Regions from separate parts of the Homo sapiens genome. Here region 1 is linked to region 2. The links are contacts of gene promoters, found by promoter capture Hi-C in human tissues and cell types (Jung and others, 2019). All regions are on one chromosome and are shown on one strand. The core of a region is centred on a gene start or on the middle of the fragment in contact, and the rest is flanking DNA. Distances in the headings are between cores, read along the strand shown.

Evidence for each region. The method cuts DNA at HindIII sites, captures the fragments that hold promoters and counts their contacts. A contact is called where the count stands out against the background at its distance.
Region 1: a contact is called between a fragment that was not itself captured here and the fragment with the promoter of TMEM44 in region 2, in 2 of the 25 tissues and cell types used here (spleen and thymus).

Annotation. Positions count from the first base shown.
Region 1 is chr3:194,963,654-194,970,918 of GRCh38, forward strand. No RefSeq gene overlaps it. Among named protein-coding and RNA genes, the nearest start is that of XXYLT1-AS1, 130 kb to the right of the region's middle. The HindIII fragment of the contact is 4,123 bases long and covers 1,283-5,405 here.
Region 2 is chr3:194,628,560-194,635,414 of GRCh38, forward strand. TMEM44 (transmembrane protein 44) reads right to left here and starts at 4,860. Exons shown (of 10, transcript NM_001011655.3): 1 at 4,520-4,860. The coding sequence starts at 4,656. It overlaps TMEM44-AS2 (TMEM44 antisense RNA 2), which reads left to right and starts at 4,369. Exons shown (of 2, transcript NR_186047.1): 1 at 4,369-4,608. RefSeq lists a silencer at 4,629-5,058. The HindIII fragment of the contact is 16,299 bases long and covers 1-6,855 here.

The DNA of each region.
Region 1 (7,265 bases), core at 2,094-4,593, 330 kb after region 2:
AATTGGTAGACTAAGTAAAGATGGCCCTGAGCAATGGGGGTGGGCATCATTTAATCCATTGAGGACACAAATAGAGCACAAAGGCAGAGGAAGGGTAATTGACTCCCTCTTCTTCAGCTGGGCCGTCCATCTTCTCCTGCCCTCAGATATTACAGCTCCTGGATCTCAGGCCCTGGGAATCCAGGATTTGCACCAGCGGCACCACCAGGCATTTGACCTCATGGCCTCAGACTGGGAGTCTATACCATCGGATCGCCTGGTTCTCAGGCCTTAAGACTACAACTGAGTCACACCACTAGCTTTCCTGGTACTCCATATTAGAGATGGTATTTCATGAGACTCTTCAGCCTCTATAATCACACGAGCCAATTTTCATAATAAATCTCCTTTTGTGTCTGTCTATCTATCTATTCTATTGGTTGTGTTTCTCAGGAGAACCTTGACTAATACATGGAAATTCTTATTTTTCTTTCCACTTTTTTCACTGCTTCTGGGTCAATTCCAGCTGCACAGTTTTTGTTTTTGTTTTTCTGAGACGGAGTCTTGCTCTGTCGTCCAGGCTGGAGTGCAATGGCATGATCTTTGCTCACTGCAACCTCTGCCTCCCAGGTTCAAGCAATTCTCCTGCCTCAGCCTCCCCGAGTAGCTGGGATTACAGGTGCCTGCCACCATGCCCAGCTAATTTTGTATTTTTAGTAGAGATGGGGTTTCACCGTGTTGGTCAGGCTGGTCTTGAGCTTCTGACCTCAGGTGATCCACCCACCTCGGCCTCCCAAAGTGCGGGGATTACAGGTATAAGCCACTAGGCCTGGCTTGTTTTTTTTGTTTTTTGTTTGTTTGTTTTGTTTTTTTGTTCTTGTTGTTGTCTCTCATGTCATCCTCCTTTAAAATTCTTTTTTAGTTTTGCTAGAGTACTTTCTCAAAATCTGTTTTCATTTAAGAGGCATGACTGGTAACTGTGGTAGGCTCCCAAAATATATTCACATCCTAATCCCTGGAGCCTGTATTAGTTTATGTGGCAAAAAGGGGTTTTTGCAGATGTGACTAAGGATTTTGAGATGGGGAGATGATCCTGCATTGATCAAGTGGGCCCTAAATACAATCACGGATTTTGAGATGGGGAGATGATCCTGCATTGATCAAGTGGGCCCTAAATACAATCACAAATATCTTTACAAGAAAGAGGTAGATGGTGGTTTCTCACACAGACACAGACGAGAAGGTGATTTGAAAATGGATCAGGGAGAGATTTGAAGATGCCAGCCTTAAAGATCAGAGTGGCGCAGCCATAAGCCAAAGAATGCTTGCTCCCAGGAGAGTTGGAACAGGGAAGGGAGGGTTCTCTCCTAGAACCTCCAGAGGGAGCCTGGCACTGCCTATGCCTGGATTTTGGCCCAAGGATACTAACTTCAGACTTCTGTCCTCCAGGATGATGAGAGAATACATTTCTGGTGTTTTAAGCCACCAGGTTTGTGGTAATTTGTTACAGCAGCCACGGAAAATGGATAGAGGGATAGAATAACATTGTAATTTCCTACACACCTGAAGATGACTTTCTGAGCACTGCCCTCTTATTTCCAATTTGAAAGGGTATAAAATTCTACCTCCTATATTAAAGATCATTTTTCTTTAGAATTTTCAGGACATTACACTATGGATGTCTAGCATCCAGGTTAGCAGATGAAAAGAAATCTCATGTCAGCCTGAATCTTGTTATTTTTCAAAATACATATTTTCCCCTGCTCTGCAAACTTACATGCTTTTTATCTTTATCCTTAGAGTTCTGTTGTTCCATCAGTGTGCCTTTAGTTCATAAATCCTTGACATCTGTGGACTGTTTCTATCTGAAGACTCCTGCCTTCTTCAGTTCAGGAAATGTTTCTTCTATTTGTTTTATGTCCATTTTCTATTAAAACTTTTATTAAACAGATATTGAGCCTTCTGATCTATTTTTTATTTCTCTTGACTTTTCTCTGATATTTTCTGTCTTTGTACTTTTGCTCCATATTTTGGAAATTTCCTTTCCAAATGACCAATTTGGTTCTCAGTCTTGTCTGTTACATTATTTAGCTTATCCCATTGAATTTTTGATTTCACCAGTCATGCTTTGAATTTCTAGATCTTTGTTTCTTGTTCTTAGACAACTTTTCATGTAGCAGACTACTTTTTTTTTTTTAGATGGAGTCTCGCTCTGTCTCTAGGCTGTAGTGCAGTGGTGTAATCTCGACTCACTGCAACCTCCGCCTCCCAGATTCAAGCGATTCTCCTGCCTCAGCCTCCCGAGTAGCTGGGACTACAGGTGCACACCACCACGCCCAGCTAATTTTTGTATTTTTTGTAGAGACGGGGTTTCAGCATGTTGGCCAGGATGGTCTTGAACTCCTGACCTTGTGATCCACCCACCCCGGCATTCCAAAGTGCTGGGATTACAGGCGTGAGCCACCGTGCCCGGCCATAGTAGACTACCCTTGCATTATGGGTACAATTGCCTCTTGGTCTCTCTGAGGACACTATTTACAATTTTTTAAAATGTTCTTACTAGTTTCTCGAATTATGTCTGATTCTTCCAGGGCTAGCTGGCTTTTATTTACGATTTTAGTGTCCCTCAAATGTCAAGAGAAAGTAGGCAGAAGGGTGTGAGTTCAGAAAACACACTTGAATTTCAAAACAGGGGCACATGTACAGTTTGGAAACTATATGTATCCATGAAGAGATAAACATACCCCACAGTTTGAGGAAACTCCAAAGGTGATTCTGTTGCAAGTCATGCCCTACCCCCTACCAACACTCCATCTCCATCCACACACTTTGAGAATCAGTGGCCCAAATCAGTGATCTGAAAGAACATTGAAATCCACTAGAGAAATTTTATAAAGTATCTGGGCCTAGGCATCCCGAGGTAAAGCTAGTGCATGCTCAAGATTGTGAATCCCTGGAAGAGACTCTCCGTGAGGCCTTGTCTTTGTAACTGTGGTCCATGGACCAGCAGTGTCGGCATGGCCGTGGAACGCATTAGATGTACAGAATCTCAGCCACCTCCCCTGACCAATGTTCCAAATCAGACTCTGCGTTTAAAAGAGTTCTCAGCGACTGGTAGGCACATTAAAGATGGCAAGCACCGCTTTATGGGAGATTATAAAGCAGTGTGGTATATTTCGAGTGGGACCTCCAGAGCCTGGTAGAGCTGAACTTGAATCCCGACTCTTGCTTAACTAATTCATGAGCACTGGCTACGGAGCACTCAGCACAGTGCCTGCCGCTGCCAGAGGCTCGACAACATTCTTCCCTCCCTCGGCTACTTCTTCCAAGATTCTTTTTCAGGTCTAAGAGAGTGTGGCTCTTCAGCAGAAATATTGCTCCAATGCCTTCATTCCTCTCCTGTCTGTAAAGCAGCTGATTGATCACACTCTTTGATCTTTCCCCTCCTGGTACCATCATGTCACTCTCTCTAGCACTGTCTTAAACGATGGCTTCTGGTCTCACTTGCAAAACTTAATATCGAAATGCTTTTGATATTCAAGCTTCTTTGAAGTCAACCCAATCTGTATTCCAGAGTTAAAAAGACGTTCCGCATCATAGCTCTTCCGCATAGGAATCTGGAGTGTCTGTCGGAAAGACAGCTGTGCTCTCTGCTCTGCTGGTTCCATTTTCCCTGCGAGCTCCCTGAAGAAGCATGGAAATCAATTCCACATCAGATGACACCTTCCTGCGGCTGCAATTCATGTTAAGGACACCTTTGATTCAGTACCAATTCGCTCTTATGGAGCTCACAGCGAACTTCCTCTTGTACTTTCTAATGTGTCCACAGTCCCCCAAGCCACGCTTGAAGCTTGGGTTCAAGACAGAGATGTCTGTTTCTGTTTTACAAATGAGCAAGCAACTACAGAGAGGCTGGGACACTTTCCAAAGAAGAAGCACACAGGATTTTGATGAGCCTAAGTTTCTTAACCAGATCAGTGTTCCAAGAAAATGAGAGGAAATCCTGTCTCCAGCAGCTGGTAGCATCAGGTCTGGAGATAGTTAACCAGCCAGCGTCCCCTTCCTGATGATCCAGGCACTTCAGGAATCACCATCTGCAGCTGGTGAAAGCAAATCACCAGGTGACCGTTTCTAGGAAGAACTCTTGCTCTCTCTTTGTCTTCCTCTCTCTCTGCTCTCCTCCTCGTGCTAACTCAGGGGGCACTCTCTTTCCCAAGTCATAGACACAGAGCTTGCTTCACACATGGGTACTCATCACTTGTCATAATCGCCCAAGGACCCCGAAAAGGGTCACACAATGTGTGCTCATCCCAAATCTGCTCTCTCTCTGTCTCTGTCTACCTCTGCCTGTCTATGTCTGTCTGTCTGTCCATCTCTATCTCTCTTCCTCTCTCTCTTACATACATACACACACTTACAGGAAAACCACCTAGAGCTTCTCTCAACCGCTTTTGGGTAGGACTAGAGGGCTGTCCCGTTGGCAGAAGAAAAATGGGGAGAAGCCATTGCTCCACTATGTTAGAACAATGTTCCTAAGTCTTTAACATGCACACGAATCTCGGTGGTGGGGAGGGTCTCGTTCAATGTCAGATTCTGGCTCAGCAGGCCCATGGCCGGGTCTGAAATTCTGCATTTCTAATAAGCTTCTAGTGGTGCTGAAGCTGCTGGTCTATGGGCCACATGTTGAGTAGCAAGAGATTAGAATGAACTCCCCATCCTGTGGGGATCTGTAGGGGTTACAAGAGGAGGCAGAAGTAGCCCAGGAGAGAGAGCCTGCAGGATGCTGCCTGTTGAGGATGGATGCCCAGAAGGCCCGTGTCTCCTCGTGATTCTGCCACTATGCCTGCTCCATCAATTCAGAAGATGGATACTGACAAGATACAATTAATTTAATGTATTCGGCAGAATGTGTCAGGAAGTCAAAGAAAAAACTCCATGCACATCTCAGTAAGGACTGTTAAGACATTTGATAACATTTACATCGATTTCTGAAATAAAGGGAAAATATACTCCCTTTATGTGATAATATCTCTTCTAAACCAACTTCAAACATAACACCTAATGGCCGTTACTAGAAACAATCTTATTAAAGTCAAGGACAGGCAAGAATATCTGTTAATTAACACTCTTCTAAAATGTGGGACCAAAGCATATAAACCAGAAATAAAAAGTGTAGCTATAGAAAAGAAAGAGGAGACACAGTTATAATTTGCAGATGGTATAATCATCATCCCATAAAACCTAAGACTCATCGGAAAATTCTTGGAATTAATGAAAGAGCTTGATGAAGTAATAGAATACATAAGAAGCATAAAAAGCAATAACTTTCATGCACACATATCTAGTGATCAGTTCAGGAATATGTGTGAAAGTTTCCTTTCACACAGGACAATGAAAATAAGACCAAAATGTAGAAATTAACGTCAATTGTTCATTTTAATTTTAATTAGTTAACAATCAATAAAACATAAAACTTTACAAAGAGATATAAAAGACTTGGGTGTGGTGAGGACACCCGTGCTTCCAAATTTTGTTGCTGTTGTCTCTTCTGCTGTACTATTTGTCCTTGTACATTTATGCCTTGAAAAAATCCAATATGTTGTCTCTAATGTTATCAGACAGCAATCACCTAAGGGGCCTGGATGAAATAAACCACCGGTATTGACTGTATATATTACAGCGCAAATCCACTACCAAGAGAAATGAGGAGGGAGAAGAAAAAAGCAGGGGATGGGAGGAAAAGAGAGTGTGGTTTAGGCCATAGGGGGGTTTTGTGGGGGGAGGGGAACGTGGGATATTTTTTCTCTTAAATGACATCTTCTAAGAAGGTGCATCTCCTTTGCAAGAATGTATCTCCTTTGCAAAGCAAGCTGACACTAAGTAACAAGAGTCCTGAAAGTATTCAAACTCTTTAACCCAACAATCTCACCATTTGAATCTATCCCAAGGAATAACTTTAAAATCTCAAATAAACCTCATAACAAAGATGTTCACCAAAACATATTTATGATAACAAAAAAATGAAGATAATTTAAATGCCCAACAGTGGAAACGTTTCAGGAGCCTATAGTGCATCTATTTGGTAAGATATGTTACACAATCATTGAAAACAATGCTTGCCAAGTGTGATAAAAACACAGGAAACATTCACCTTCAACAAAAAGGCTGCATAAAATTCAATATGTACCATCCTCAAAAACATTAAAAAGCTTTGCCTAGAAAAGGAATGAAAGGACATGCCCCAAAATGTTAACACTGAGTAGTTTTAATTTTCTCTGTTTCTACTTTTCTAAAATGAGCAAGTATTTCCTCTTAAAGTATACAATCCAATGGTTCAGTATATTCAGTCTGTGCAACCACTGCCAACATCAATTTTAGAACATTTTCATCATCTCAGAAATAAACCCTATACATTTTGGCTATCACCCTCAGCCCCCAATCCCCTCAGCCCTGAGCAACCACTAAGCTCTGGGTCTCTTTATAGATTTTCTTATTCTGGATATTCCGTATAAATGGAATCATACAATACGTGGCCTTTGGTGACTGGCTTCTTTCACTTCCTTCAAGGTTCATCCGTGTTGAGGCATGTATTAACACGTTATCCCTTTTGATGGCCAAATAATATTCCATTGTATGGATGTACCATATTTTGTTTATCCATTCATCAGTATATAGGCATTTGGGTTATTTCTACCTTTTGGCTATTATGAATAATGTGGCTCTAATCATTTATGTACAAGTTTTTGTACAAAATGACAAATATTTTCATTTCTCTTGGTCATATCCCTAGGGAATAGAATTGCTAGGTCATATGGTTACTCTCTGTTTACTCTTTTGAAGAATGGCCAGACTGTTTTCCAAAGTGTGTCCCCCATTTTACATTCCCACCAATAGTTTATGAGGGTTCTGTATATCCTCACCAACTCTTATTGTTATCTGTCATTTTTATTATAGCCTTCCTATTGGGCATGAAGTGGTATCCCATTGTGGTTTTGGTTTATATGTCCTTGATGGTTAATGGCATTGAGTATCATCCATGTTCTCAATGGCACTTTGTATATTTCCTTTGGAAAAAGAATAAACACTTATATCCTTTGCCTGTTTTTTAATTGGGCTATTTGTCCTTTTATTTTATTATAGAGTTGCAAATATTTCTTCTTGCTTTGATGTTGTTATTTTTTATCGGGCTTTTTTTTTTTTAGACATTCTTTTGATCTTTTGACAAATCAGAGAGCCCAGCTCAACTTCTCACACACTCTCCAGGTATTTTTTAAGAAACGAAACAT
Region 2 (6,855 bases), core at 3,610-6,109:
AAACGCATGTATCTAAAAAGGGCAACTGTGACCCCGCATCGTCAGGGAGCTCTTTCTGCCCGAGGTATTTAGGACGTGTTTTTGAACTGAGTTTACAGATGGGAACCAATCAGAAGACTCCAGAGCCGCCTGTCCAGATGCCCATGGCAGGAGCTAGACCTCGTGAGATGTGAAGACACCGCCTCTTTGGAGGAAGAGGAATTTTACTTTCCGACTCCAAATCAGGACGGCTCCATTTGATGACCCCCCACCTAGCACTGAAAAAGCAGCCATCGGGTTTTATTTTTTGAAAAGGAAACAGGAGGGTTATAAAAGTAACTCAGGCTGGGTATGGTGGCTCACACCTGTAATCCCAGCAGTTTGGGAGGCCGAGGCAGGAGGATCCTCTGAGGTCAGGAGTTCGAGACCATCCTGGCCAACATGGTGAAACCCCGCCCCTACTAAAAATACAAAAATTAGCCGGGTGTGGTGGCGTGCGCCTGTAATCCCAGCTACTCCGGAGGCTGAGGCAAGAGAATTGCTTGAACCCAGGAGGCAGAGGTTGCAGTGAGCCAAGATCACACCATTGCACTCCAGCCTGGGTGACAAAGCGAGACTCCGTCTCAAAAAAAAAAAAAAGCAACCCAACCACTGCAGATAACTGCAGAGCACAGTTAATTGCCTGAATTAAAAAGACAACTTGTTTCTCTGAAATAAATTCAAACGAAATTCTTCTAAACCATCTGTGAAGTGGGGCAGCCTGGCTTCTGCTGGCCTGTGTCCATGTTCTTTAAACACAGAGCCCTTTTGGCACTTGGAGCTGTCCCTCCCTCAGCGCCCCCACAGCCACTTCTCCCCTTACAGCCCCTCCCCAGTCCATATCCACTGGAGAAGATGCACGGAAGGGCAGGAAGGGGCTGGCTGTTTCTATCAGCGTCACTGATAGGGCCTCTGAAATACGTTGTTGTACATGCCTCCCGAAGGGGCTGGCTGTATCTATCGGCGTCACTGATAGGGCCTCTGAAATACATTGTCGTACATGCCTCCTGAAGGGGCTGGCTGTTTCTATCGGCGTCCCTGATAGGGCCTCTGAAACACGTTGTCGTACCTGCCTCCCGAAGGGGCTGGCTGTTTCCATCGGCGTCACTGACAGGGCCCCTGAAATAATACGCTGTCGTACCTGCCTCCCGGAGGGGCTGGCTGTTTCCATCGGCGTCACTGATAGGGCCCCTGAAATAATACGCTGTCGTACCTGCCTCCCGGAGGGGCTGGCTGTTTCCATCGGCGTCACTGATAGGGCCCCTGAAATAATACGCTGTCGTACCTGCCTCCCGAAGGGGCTGGCTGTTTCCATCGGCGTCACTGATAGGGCCCCTGAAATAATACGCTGTCGTACTGCCTCCCGAAGGGGCTGGCTGTTTCCATCGGCGTCACTGATAGGGCCCCTGAAATAGTATGCTGTCGTACCTGCCTCCAGAAGGGGCTGGCTGTTTCCATCGGCGTCACTGATAGGGTCCCTGAAATAATACGCTGTCGTACCTGCCTCCCGAAGGGGCTGGCTGTTTCCATCGGCGTCACTGATAGGGCCCCTGAAATAATACGCTGTCGTACCTGCTTCCCGAAGGGGCTGGCTGTTTCCATCGGCGTCACTGATAGGGCCCCTGAAATAATACGCTGTCGTACTGCCTCCCGAAGGGGCTGGCTGTTTCCATCGGCGTCACTGATAGGGCCCCTGAAATAGTATGCTGTCGTACCTGCCTCCAGAAGGGGCTGGCTGTTTCCATCGGCGTCACTGATAGGGCCCCTGAAATGATACGCTGTCGTACCTGCCTCCCGAAGGGGCTGGCTGTTTCCGTCGGCATCACTGATAGGGCCCCTGAAATAATACGCTGTCGTACTGCCTCCCGAAGGGGCTGGCTGTTTCCATCGGCGTCACTGATAGGGCCCCTGAAATAGTATGCTGTCGTACCTGCCTCCAGAAGGGGCTGGCTGTTTCCATCGGCGTCACTGATAGGGCCCCTGAAATGATACGCTGTCGTACCTGCCTCCCGAAGGGGCTGGCTGTTTCCATCGGCGTCACTGATAGGGCCCCTGAAATAGTATGCTGTCGTACCTGCCTCCAGAAGGGGCTGGCTGTTTCCATCGGCGTCACTGATAGGGCCCCTGAAATGATACGCTGTCGTACCTGCCTCCCGAAGGGGCTGGCTGTTTCCGTCGGCGTCACTGATGGGGCCTCTGAAATACGTTGTCGCACGTGCCTCCTGGAGGGGCTGGCTGTTTCCGTCGGCATCACTGATAGGGCCTCTGAAATAATACGCTGTCGTACCTGCCTCCCGAAGGGGCTGGCTGTTTCCGTCAGCGTCACTGATGGGGCCTCTGAAATACGTTGTCGCACATGCCTCCTGGAGGGGCTGGCTGTTTCCGTCGGCATCACTGATAGGGCCTCTGAAATAATACGCTGTTGTACCTGCCTCCCGAAGGGGCTGGCTGTTTCCGTCGGCATCACTGATAGGGCCTCTGAAATAATACGTTGTCGCACGTGCCTCCCGAAGGGGCTGGCTGTTTCTATTGGCGTCACCGATAGGGCCTCTGAAATACGTTGTCATACCTGCCTCCCGAAGGGGCTGGCTGTTTCCCTCAGCGTCACTGATAGGGCCTCTGAAATATGTTGTCGTACCTGCCTTCCGAAGGGGCTGGCTGTTTCTATCGGCGTCACTGATAGGGCCTCTGAAATACATTGTCGTACCTGCCTCCTTGCTACATTTCTCTGGAGACACCGAGACAGGGTGGCAGCGCTGGCTTCATTTCCACTCAGCAGAGGGTGGTGCTCATTCCACATCCTTAGGACGATTTAGCTGATTCTGAGCGCCTGTCCTTGGGAATGGTGGATGAGTACAGAGGGCTCTTGGCTTTCTAAACATTTCCTGACCTGCTGGCCCAAGCCTGAAGCTCACAGTGGCAACATCAACTTCAGTCTGGGCCCTGGGCTCCTAAAACCAATTGAAGACCAAGGAGTGGAGATTCTTAAATTGGAGACTCCCAGAGGCGGACCCCAATTAGAAATAATTTATATCAACCCTCCCATTTGAGAGGACAAAACTGAGGCCTCTGGTGAGAAGGTGAGTTAATGGTGGTCTTCTGGCTTCACACGCGGGGGCTTTGCTCCGTACCCTGTTGTTCTCAGCCACTTCCCCAGCTCTTGGGGCCAGGGTGCCAGCTGACCTTAACCCAGCCCACACACCACTCCGAAGACACATTCTTCTAAGAGAAAGGGGAGCAGGGGAGGTTCAGGGATGGCAAGGCCCTGAAAACAAATGGGTATGTCCAGATCCCAGGCAGGGTGAGAAGCAGAGGCTCACTCTTAACCCCTCCAAGGTTGGCAAAGTGCCTAACAGTGCTGGTCTGAGGACAACTGTGAGGAACAAAAGGATAATGCGTGTCCAGCGCCTTGTTAGTTTCCAGCCTCTGATCTGAACAGTTTAATCTCTCTTACCAGCCTGCCCCTTTCCAATAGGATCTGGGGTTTTGGTTCTTTCCTTTCACTCAGACAAGTTATTTAACCTCTCAGAACCTCAGGGTTCCCTACAGAAAGTGGGGGTAACAGCACCTACCTCCTGGTGCTGATATTGTGAGTGGCAGGCATTGAATGAGTTAATGAATGCAACACTGGGCCTACAGTAAATGTTCTAGGCGTCTTTTTATTTGTATTGCAGTACTGGGTAGTGGGGCTGCAGAATCTCTGCAATACGACCAAACGCCTTAGGAGAATATCCACTGAGTGCCTACAGGGAGACAGTTCTAACCTCTCCCAGGGGTGCTGGTCCTTTCTCCCCTGCCAGGGAATGCTTGGGCGGCACCATCCTGAGCACTGCTAGTGGATTTCCATGCCTAGGACAGAGCGGCTGAGGACCTGGAGATTCACTCTTAGAACTTAGGCTACCGTGGGCATCTGGACAAACCAGTCCAGGTGCTGGACAGACCAGGGCAAAGACAGGCCAGCTGGATCATATCACTACCTCCCTTCCCACCTAAGAGGACTTTGGGTAAACTGAGGCCAGAAACATCAAGGGACTTGCCAAGGTCCTAAGAGTTGGTGGCCTAGCTGGAGCAATACAAATGATGTTTAATGAGCATTTACTAAGTGCTTTAACGGTACTGATTCATCGAATCCTCCCATCATCCTATGAGGTATTATCTCCGGTCATAGGAGGCCCAGAGAGGTTCTGGAGCTTGCCCAGGTCACACTGCGAGTCAATGGCGAAGGGCTGACAATAGCACCCAGGGCTCGCGGTGTCCTCGGGGCCCCATCCGCTGCACCACCCAGCCTCCTCCCTTTGGCTCACAGCCCAGCTTCCCTGTGCGTGGGATCCGGAAAGAAGATCCCACTTCAGTCTACAGAGCAATGTTCCATTGGATCCTATTACTGAGCCATCTCCTTCATCCCCCTTTCCGCCCCCTCCTCTAGGTTTCCGAGAGGGAGCAGCAGGGGATTGGCGCCCGTTTCCCCGCCCGACAGCCCCCCGACCCGTGGCCCCATTACAGCGCGTGGGCGGCGATCCAGCAGGAGGAGGCGCAGATCCACAGGCCGAAGGAGATGCAGACGCGGTGGCGGGCGAAGCAGCGGTCCAGGTAGTCCCAGTCCCAGAGCGCGGGCGCGGGGCTGGGCGCCTCCCCCATGGCGCGGCTGGGCGCGCGGCGCGGGGCCGGGGACCTGGGCGCAGCCTCCCTCGCCGCGGGCAAGCCCCGAGCGCCGCCGCCCCGCGTGCCCTTCTCTGGGTTCCGTTCCGCCGCGGCGCCTCCGGCCGAGCGCACCGACCGCGGGCAGAGAAGGGCGCGCTCCCGGGCGCGGGCGGCGGCGGCGAAGGCGCCGGGGAAAAGTTTCCGGGACCGCGCGCTCCCCACCCCTCGCGCTATTGTCGGGGGTCGGCAGGGCGGAGGCCGCCCCCCAGCGGCGGGAGCCGGGAGCTGCGCGCGCACAAAGACTGCGGCCCCCGCCCCCCGCCGACCTCTTCGCGGTCACCCACCTCCAACATCCTGGCCGGAGCGGGGCGGGCGGCTGGGCTCGCGGACGGCCGAGTCCCTGCCGGTCGCTGTAAGGCACGGCGTCCCTTCCTGCGTATTGTCCACATTTCCTGAGCCAACAGCAATTAGTTGCGCTGCTGAAGCGCATGGGTGCTGGGATCCCGAGGTGAAGGGGGCGTGGTCCTGATCGCCGACAGGGCGCAGTAAAAAGGGTGGGGTGCAAGACCAGGAAGGAGGAAACAAACGTGCCGGAGAACAAATACCCCCACATCTGCCTCTCACTCTCCTTTCTGAAGCTGCCAACGGCACCCTCCGCCCCCAGGCAGTCGCCCAAGCCCTGCTCCTGGATGTCATCCTAGCCCACGGCCCCGCAGCCAAGAGCTGGTTATCTCTGCAACCGGCCGCCTCCTGTCCAGCCACACACCGCACAGTTCAAGTACACAGGGCTGTTTTTCTTGAGAGTAAACTATTATTGTAATTTTTAAATCTCCTTATTGATTTTAGTAGGTTTGTTTAAAGCAAGACATGACTTGAAAACAATATTTCTATAGAAGGAGCAGGATTGAAAAAAAGAAAAAAAATCTTTTTTAATTTTCAAAAACTACAGCTTTATTTAGATATTATTTATATGCCATAAGCATAGTCTTTTTTTTTTTTTTTTTTTTTGAGACAGAGTCTCACTCTGTTGCCCAGGCTGGAATGCAATGGTGCGATCTCAGCTCCCTGCAGCCTCCGCCTCCCAGGTTCAAGCAATTCTCCTGCCTCCGCCTCCCAAGTAGCTGGGACTACAGGTGCCCGCCACCACACCCGAGTAATTTTTGTATTTTTAGTAGAGACGGTGTTTCACCATGTTGGCCAGGCTGGTCTTAAACTCCTGACCTCGTGATCTGCCCTCCTCAGCCTCTTAAAGTGCTGGGATTACAGGTGTGAGCCACCACATCCAGCCTACATAGTACTTTTAAAATGTACAATTCTGGCCAGGCACGGTGGCTCACAACTGTAGTCCCTGCACTTTGGGAGGCTGAGGCAGGCGGATCACTTGAGGTCAGGAGCTCAAGACCGGCCTGGCCAACATGGTGAAACACTGTCTCTACTAAAAATACAAAAATTAGCCGGGCATGGTGGTGCGCGCCTGTAATCCCAGCACTTTGGGAGGCCGAGGCAGGTGGATCACTTGAGGTCAGGAGTTTGAGACCACCCTGGCCAACATGGTGAAACCCCATCTCTACTAAAAACACAAAAATTAGCCAGGCATGATGGCAGGCGCCTGTAATCCCAGCTACTCGGGAGACTGAGGCAGGAGAACTGCTTGAACCTGGGAGGCGGAGATTGCTGTGAGCTGAGATGGCGCCACTGCACTCCAGCCTGGGCGACAGAGCAAGACTCCATCTCAAAACAAAACAAAAAATAAAATGTACAATTCAGCAGTTTTTAGTGTATCCATAGCGTTGTGCAACCAACATCACTGTCTACTTTTAGAACATTTTCATCACCCCCATCTGAAAAGAACCCGGCCCACTGGCAGTTACTGTCCACTCCCCTCAACACTCGCAGCCCAGGAATCGCAAATCTACCTTCTGTCTCTATGGATTTGCCCATTTTGGACATTCCACATCAATGGAATCATCCACTATATGACCTTTCTGTGACTTTCACTTAGCATGTTTTCAAGGTTCATTCATGTTGCTGCGTGTTATCAGTACTTCATTCCTGTTTATGGCTCATCATAATACATGGTATGGGTATTTTTATACCACATTTCGTTTATCCACTCATTAGTGGGATGTTTGGATTGCTTTCACCTTTGGGCTATTATGAATAATGCTGCTCTGAACATTTGTGCACAAGTTTTTG